2 separate regions of the Homo sapiens genome follow, and region 2 is linked to region 1. The links are contacts of gene promoters, found by promoter capture Hi-C in human tissues and cell types (Jung and others, 2019). All regions are on one chromosome and are shown on one strand. Each heading gives the region's core, a stretch centred on a gene start or on the middle of the fragment in contact. The rest is flanking DNA. Distances are from core to core; before and after follow the strand shown.

Region 1 (4,233 bases), core at 1,204-3,703:
GAATTCGAGACCAGCCTGACCAACATGGTGAAACCCGGTCTCTACTAAAAATACAAAAATTAGCTGGGCATGGGGGCGAGCGCCTGTAATCCCAGCTACTCAAGAGGCTGAGGCAGGAGAATCACTTGAACCCAGGAGGTGGAGGTTGCAGTGAGCCGAGATTGCGCCGCTGCACTCCATCTTGGGTGACAGAGCGAGATTCCATCTAACCGCTGCACTCCAGCTTGGGTGACACAGCAAGATTCTATCTAAAAAAAAACGAAAGGCAAGAGGAAAGGAAAATAGTAGCTTGTATGTTGTTAGGTAAGGTTTTTTTTTTTTTTTTTTTTTTTTTATAGAGAGTCTCAGCTCTGTCACCCAGGCTGGAGTGCAGTGCCACAATCATAGCCCACTGCAGCCTCGACTTCCAGGGCTCAAGCGATCCTCCCACCTCAGCCTCCCGAGTAGTTGGGACTACAGGCACATACTACCACGCCTGGCTAATTTTTTGATTTTTAATAGAGACAAGGTCTCTCTGTATTGCTCAGGCTGCTCTCAAACTCCTGGGCTCAATCGATCCTTCCACCTCGGCCTCCCAAAGTGCTGGATTACAGGCATGAGTCATGGCAGCCAGCCTCAGGTGAGATTTAATTGAAGGACACTGTTGCTCTAAAGCGTAGTCCGAAATTACCATCACTCTATTTATTGAGTAGTTACCATATACCGGGCACTGTTTTAAACACTTAGCAGGTATGAACCCACTGGTGCCTCACTACAAACCCTCTGCTAGGTGCTATGATTATCCCCACTTTACAAATGAAGCTGAGGCCCAGAGGACTGTAAAAGAGAACTATCTGTCAGTGAGGCACAGAGGACAGCCAGACCGGAAATGCTCACGATGTGAAGTGAATGGTGAGGTAGGGGATTATTTCCATTCACCCACAGCTCTCTCCCTATCTGTGTATCTGGGGAAGGCCTCAAAGGAAAGCTGGGCCTGGGAGAGAGGGAGGGCTGGGTATGCACAGGCAGTGAAGGGAAGGCTGAGATGACAGCATCCTCATTTGTCCTAACTTGGCTTTATTTATCCATGCTGTTCACTGGAAAACTCTGAGAGCTGTGGGCCAAGCACCAGGCCGGGTGTGGGGAGGCAGAGCTAAAAGTCCTAGTTCCTGCCCTCAAAAAGGCCCCTGTAGCCAGACTCAGACAGGTAAACAGAGTTACAACACAGACATAGCCCTGAAAGAGATAAGCATAGGAAGGGAGGGAGCAGGTCTGGGCACTCACCCGATCTTACCGAGTGTGTGCTGGGGGCTGAAAAGCTTTTCCACCTGAACTGATTCTTGACAGTTCCTTGAAGCCTAGGAAGGGGGTCTGAAGGGGAGCTCTCAGGAGAGGGGCACAAGCCCAACAGCCGGAAGGAAAGAGAAGGTACTCTGACTCCCCCCCCCCTTTTTTTTTTTTTTTGAGATGGAGTCTTGCTCTGTCGCCCCAACTGGAATGCAGTGGCACGATCTCAGTTCACTGCAACCTCCGCCTCCTGGGTTCAAGCAATTCTCTTGGCTCAGCCTTCCAAGTAGCGAGTAGCTAGGATTGTAGGTGCCAACCACCATGCCTGGCTAATTTTTAAATTTGTAGTAGAGACGGGGTTTCATCACGTTGGCCAGGCTGGTCTCGAACTCCTGACCTCAAGTGATCCACCCACCCCGGCCTTCCAAAGTGCTGGGATTACAGGCGTGAGCAGCTGTGCCTGGCTGCCTCCTCCTTTAATAGCCCTCCCTGCCCTTCATCCTCCTGGTCCTCAGACTCAGGAAGCCTACAATTCTTTTTTTTTTAACGGATCCTGATATAATCCTCTCTCTCTTTTTTTAGAGAAAAGGGCTCACTTTGTCACACAGGTTGGGGTGCAGTGGCACGATCATAGTTCACTGCAGCTGCGAACTCCTGGGCGCAAGCAATCTTCTTGTCTCAGCCTCATGAGTAGCTAGCACTACCAGCTTGTGCCACTGCACTGGCTAACTTTTTTCTTTCTCTTCTTTTCTTCTTCTTTTTTTTTTTTTTTTTTTTTTTTTTTTTGTAGAGACAAGGTCTCGCTATGTTGGCCAGGCTAGTCTCAAACTCCTGGCCTCAAGTCATCCTCCCGCCTTGGCCTCCCAAAGTGCTGGGATTACAGACATGATCCTCCACAGCTGGCCTGACATAATTCTTAAACTGTGTATTGAATATACTGTATTGCTTTCCTCCCTTTAAAGCTAATTGCTCCCTGATTTTAGCTGTCATAGGTGAGTAGCAGCATTCATGATTTCATCAGTGTGCTGGGAGTTTCACTTACCAAAGCTGTTCCACTACTGGGGATGATGCTCTTCCTCATTTTGTCTGACAAATTCCCACACAATATTTATTTATTTATTTTTGAGACGGAGTCTTGCTCTGTTACTCAGGGTGGAGTGCAGTGGTGCAATCTCAGCTCACTGCAACCTCCGCTTCCTGGGTTCAAGTGATTCTCCTGCCTCAGCCTCCCAAGTAGCTGGGATTACAGGTGTGTGCCATGACACCCGCCTAATTTTTTTTATTTTTTATTTTTTATTTTATTTTTAGTAGAGACGAGGTTTCGCCATGTTGGCCAGGCTGGTCTCGAACTCCTGACCTCAAGTGGTCCACCCGCCTTGGCCTCCCAAAGTGTTGGGATTACAGGCATGAGCCATCACGCCTGACCTCCACGCACTATTTAAATACGGGCATTGTCACAAAGATGTGGGCAGAGTGATGGGAAGCCACAAGGGATGGCCTAGACCCCGTGGCTAATAACAGAGGGGTACAGCTTGCCAACTACGTCTAGGCTTGAAGGAGCAGGAGAGGGACGGTGGCTGGAACCTGGTGAGAGAGCTGTGATTTTATGTTCTAGAACTTTATGTTCCAGGAGGGAGCCCGCTGGCAGTACCAACTGGAATCCAGCCAGAAGCAGAGGGCAAGGAGCTGGTGGATGCAGGCCACAGAAGCCAGCCTCCCGAGGCACAGAACAGGGCGAAGGACGGCAGAGAGTGGGTGTGGAACTGCTTGGGCAAATGGGAACTATTCAGCACTTACTGATCTATGTTAGGGGCTGAGCTGTGTCTCCCCAAAAATCATATGTTGAGGTCCTAACTCCAGTACCTCAGAATGTGACTATAATAGGAGGTAGTCTTTAAAGAGGTAATTAAGTTAAAATGAAGTCAGTAGGGTGGGCCCTAATCCAATAAGACTGGTGTCCTCATAAGAAGAGATTAGGACAAAACCTTCCCACACAGAGGAAAGACCATGTGAAGACGTGGGAGAAGAAAGCTGTCTCCAAGGCAAGGAGAAACTAGCCAAGTGCAGAATAAACTAAACTTGCAGACACCTTGATCTTGGACTTCTGGCCTCCAGAATAGGGAGAAAATAAATCTGTGTTTAAGCCACCCACTTTGTGTGCAAGTGGTGTTAGGGCAGGCCTAGCAAACTTCATACAATCAACAAGCTATTCAGCACATAACTTAATATTTATGTATTTACCTCTCTGTCTTCCCTACTGGACCGTTGGATTCTCTAAGACTCAGAATAGTCAGGTAGGTGTTTATATGCTTCTGGAACGAACGGATCATCTAACAAGAAAGTAAAACAGTAAGGCAATCTATGAAATATTATCAAAATGCTGCAGTCCAGGTGGCAATGGGTGGATGACACAGCACAACAGCAATCGTGTTGCTGTTACAGCCATCAGGCTTGTTGCTGCTCACAGGCACTCACTATGTCCCAGGTGCCGTGATTAGTGCTTTACATGAATGATCTCTTTTACTTTTGCAACAAGCCACGAAGATAGTTGACACTGCCATCCAGATTATTATTATTATTATTATTATTATTATTATTATTATTTGAGACAGGGTCTTGGCTCTGTTGACCAGGCTGGAGTGCAGTGGTGTGATCATGGCTCACTGCAGCCTTGAACTCCTGGGCTCAGGCCATCCTCCCACCTCAGTCCCCTGAGTAGCTGGGATTACAGGCATGCACCACCACACCTGGCTAATTTTGCCCAGGCTGGTTTTGATCTCCTGGCTTAAGCAATCCTCCCACACTGGCCTCCCAAAATGTTGGGATTACAAGCATGAGCCACTGAGCCCAGCTCCACATTTTAACAGTTGGAGAAACAGAGGCTCGAAAAGTTACATAACTTGCTCAGAGTGAAGCAATTAGTGGGCACGTCTACAATGAGACAGTGGGATTAATATGAGGCCGAGT
Region 2 (4,233 bases), core at 1,210-3,709, 340 kb before region 1:
CTGAGGGTAGGTACCTTGATGGGAAAGCAGGGGGGCAGCTGGGCGCAGGTCCTCTCACAGTCAACGCCTGCAGTGAAGGCCACTCTGGCCGGGGACTCCGGGGAGAAGTCCAGGTCATGGTCAATGAACTGGCCCCACTGCATGAACATGAGGGCTCGGCCACGGTCGGAGGTCAGTCTCTCATTGGGGAAGCGCACAATCTGGTTGGAGACAGCCCGGACCTGGTGGGGAAATAACATCAGCACGGGACATGGGCTCCCTGACCCCACAAGGTATTAGAGCCAACCCAGGACTCAGGGAGCAGCAGCTCCCCTGCTGGAATTGACAGCCTCTCCTCTTCTGCCCTCCATGCCCCTTTTGTCCCTGGAGGCGTAGCCACCTCCTGCTCTCATTCCTAGAAGGATGGTTTCTGGCTGGGCTCCTGAGGATTCCGGTGGTAAAGAGAAGGAGAGGGGCTAGGTTGACTGGCTCAGACCTCACCAGCTCTCCCAGAGGGGAAGGGAGATCAAATAGATAGATCAATTTGTACACTGATAGCTAACCAGATGATAGCACGGATTCACAGGTGCATGGGCTGGTTGCCAGGTGATGGATAATACACGTAGGGAGTACGGGGTCAGCAGATGGAAGGGTGGATAGAAGAAAATTAATTAATAGATGTTGATAGATGGGTAGATGATAGACTGCTCTATCGATATATCAATAGAAAACTGATGAGTTGATAAATGTGAAATAGATCAATAGATAAAGCCAGATTAAGGTATAGAGCTGTTTATATTTAGCAAGACTTTGACACTAATTTTCTCAGAAAAAACCGTACAACACCGTAATGGTTAGCATGAATAGATCATGTCCTCTATAGCTATTTATACCAAGGACTTCAATATCCACACAGGCTCTACGAGGTAGGTTTTAGGGCCATTTTACAGATGAGGAAACTAAGCCTCAGAAAGCTGTGTTATTTGCCTCAAGTCACTGCACTGGTCAGTGGAAGGGCCTGGGTTCAAGCCCTGCCTGCGTGACTCTGGGCTGTGTTTTACTCCCCGCATTTAAGAGATCAAGCAACCTCCCAAACCCTCAGCCCCAACTCACAAGAGGGAGAAGGAAGCCATTGCGCCTCCTGCTGGGGGTCCAGCCGAAGGGGAGCGACAGCCCATCCTCATACTCGGCGGGCAGCCAGCGAGCCAGAGCCTGGTTGGAGGCCCCTAGCAAGGGTCTCCTCCTGCAGCCATGGGTGGGATAGGTTAGCAGGGGGCAGGGCCTGGAGATGGCTCAGCATGGAGGGAGAGGGTGGGTGCAGGAAGGGAGAGGTCCCCCAGGCAGGGGCAGCCCCTCCTGCCGCCCCGCACGCACTTGTTGTTGCACCGTCCAGTGATGGTGCGGTACTTGTCGCTGCAGCGCTCGGCCTGGTCCCGGAGAGCACAGCCACTGGCCTGGGACAGCAGCCGCAGCTGTGGTTCTGTTAGCACATCTGTGGGAAGGCAAATGGGCAGACCTGAGCTGGCCTGCTCTGTACCTCCCATCCCTTTACCCTCTCTCCTCCCAGCACCCCAAACCTGTGCACCCTGCCTCCCTCTCCTGGATTCCTTCTACTCCAGGCCAGGGTAGGCCCAGCGGGCTCAGTGGGGATCAGAGTACCAGTGACATTGAAGGGTCCGGACCGCTGGGGTTGTAACTTCTCTTCAAGCAGCCCCAAAGCCACATGCATATAATCTGCGGCCCGAACAACTGTCCTGGTGGCTGCTACCGGTTGTTTGAAGTAGGACAGGAGGTCCATGGGGCTGGCTGAACCGCTGCGAAGCCGCTGCTTGATGCTGCCCAGGAGAGGAGGAGTGAGGGCTGGAGAGAGGGTGCAGACCCACCCAGCAGAGACCCAGTCCTGGGGCACAGTCAGGACAGGGCAAGCGGACAGAAGGATGGATGGAAGGGAGGCTCTACCAACAGGAAATGTTCATGGGGTCCAGAGGTGGCTGATGAGTGAGATGAACTTGGCTGGGGCCCATGCCCCTCACTGATCCTCCCAGGCCCATGCAGCCCCCAGACCCAAGTCCACCTCTTCTGGGTCCAATTGTAGGCAGCATCCACCAGCAACTTGGCCTCTGCTATGCAGTCTCGCAGGACCGAGGTCTCCACTGCCCCAGGGGAGGCTGTTCAAAGAGATGGGGACTCAGGGTTCAGCAAGCCACAAGACCCCCTCCAAGACCCAAGTGCTTCCCCTTCCATTTCCCCTCCCTCCTCCTTGCCTGTCTAGGGGACTATTACCTGGGTCAGTGCCCTCACAGGGCTGGGCGAGGACGAGTGTGGCCAGGACCCCTGCCAGGGCTGGGAGCAGATGCATCTCTGCAGCGAGGCTTCACCAGCTGGGAAGTGAGTGACATCCACAGCCTGCACGGGAGGATCCTCTGCTCCCCTCTCACTTTGAGGACCCCCAGCCGACCTCTCACTTCCTCCAGCTCTTCTCTGGACGTAGCTGGGAAGGGACTTTTATAGCCCATTCTAGGGTGGGGGAGGGCAGCTCTGGGCCCTAGAAACCCAGCCTCTTGGGTGGAGTTCTGAAACTTCTCTCTGGTTTTCATGGGAGTTTTGAGACTGAAACCCCCCACCCCACCTCCTACCAGCCTGGGGACATTCTTCCTGCCTACCCTTCACTCCATCCCTACCCTCTACTACCAAGCCCACTGATGCACTTCTCCCAGGGCCCAGAGCAGCACCTGGGACACAGGTGTCGCTCAATGGATATTTGTTGGCTGACAGGAGCGGTGCACCTCAGTCGCCACCGCCTGGCTGCATGGCCTTGGGCAAGCCACTTTCCCTCTCCAGGCCTCAGTTTTCACATCCCTAGAATGAGAGTTGGGCCAGATGATTGGAAGGGTGCCTCTCCTCCTGCAACAGGGCAGAAACTGAATCTGCCTTACTGTTATACACACCCCCCATACCCAGCTCAAAGCCCAGCATTTAGTATGTGCTTAGCAGGTGTTTGTTGAGTGAATGAATGATCTGTGATGAATGATTTGGCCCCTCTCCTTATCCCCTAGCCCTACTCACTCCCTCCAAGGTGCCAGGGAGAGTGTGAGGCTGTGACTGAGGCAGGGCCTGGCAGTGAAATCCCTCATGGGGCCATTTTGGGGACATGGCGAGATGTCACAGGTAAAACACCCAGCCCAGTGAGCTGCTGCAGAGCCTAAAAGTAAGCGCCCGCCATGGGCTTTATTCTCTTGGAGTTTCTTAGGTGCCAATCAGTAGTAGGTTTACTCTGAGAAGTAGATTTCAATTATGAGTTCCTATTGGGCTTGGTGAGAAGTAGCTTCTTTAGAGGCAGTGTGCTGCACCAGGGTCTGATTGGCCTGGATTGAATCCAGCCCTGTCACTAGCTTCGTGACCTTGGGTGAGCCTCCATTTCCACCTTAAGTGCGCCTCCATTTCCACCTTAAGTGCAGAGTGCATCCCAGTCGGCCTTCTGCCAGGGCCCACCCTCTCTGCACCTAAGCCTTCCTCCTGTAGTTCCCTGCCCTGGATGAGCCAGGTTCATCCTTTGCCTCTGACCTCATCCCGGCTGCCTGGAGAGCACATGCTCATCCCTGAGACAGTTCCAGAGTCACCACCACTGTGGCCAGCAGCCTGCGTGTCCTCGCCCCTTCTTCAGGAGGACACGTCCATTCCTTCTTCAGTGTGGACCCCGTGCCTGCTCCAGACTCCCAGGGAGGCTGTTCCAAGTGTCCTTTCTCCTCCCCCACCCCCACACCCTACCGAAACCCTGCCCGGTGCCTTCCACAGCCTCCTCCTCCCACAGCAATGTTACCAGCCCAACCGTTGCTCTTGAAACAACCACCTCTCTTCGGCAACCCCTTTCACAAGCTCCAGTTGATGGCCTGAGCCCTCCTAATCTTATCTCCTTATCTTTAGCGGAGGCCCCTCTCCTGTGACGGGGGGCCTGGGTAGAAGTCACTGTGTAGGAGCTGAAAGCACACTGGGTTCCTTGATGCTGACCCACTGAGTGACTGGGTAAATCACACCCCTCCATGGACCTGTTTCCAAACCTGTGAGATGGGGACAGGGAGCCTCATGGAGGAGAGAGATTATATAAATCACACAGCACTCCTCAGCTGTGTGTCACCTCCCGGCCCTCAGGGAGCCAGGTGCTCCCCGGGTGGAGCCAGGTGGAATGCATGTACCCCAGGTTGGAGCTGGATGGGGTGTATGTACCACAGCTTGGAGCCAGGGTGGGGTGTATAT

What was found. Contacts are between HindIII fragments. The study calls those that stand out against the background at their distance.
Region 2: a contact is called between the fragment with the promoter of EPX here and a fragment that was not itself captured in region 1, in 1 of the 25 tissues and cell types used here (spleen).

The regions. Positions count from the first base shown.
Region 1 is chr17:57,852,566-57,856,798 of GRCh38, reverse strand. No RefSeq gene overlaps it. Among named protein-coding and RNA genes, the nearest start is that of MRPS23, 4.6 kb to the right of the region's middle. The HindIII fragment of the contact is 4,394 bases long and covers 257-4,233 here.
Region 2 is chr17:58,190,952-58,195,184 of GRCh38, reverse strand. EPX (eosinophil peroxidase) reads right to left here and starts at 2,459. Exons shown (of 13, transcript NM_000502.6): 1 at 2,263-2,459; 2 at 2,054-2,147; 3 at 1,639-1,814; 4 at 1,354-1,471; 5 at 1,093-1,222; 6 at 15-221. The coding sequence starts at 2,338. The HindIII fragment of the contact is 10,445 bases long and covers 1-4,233 here.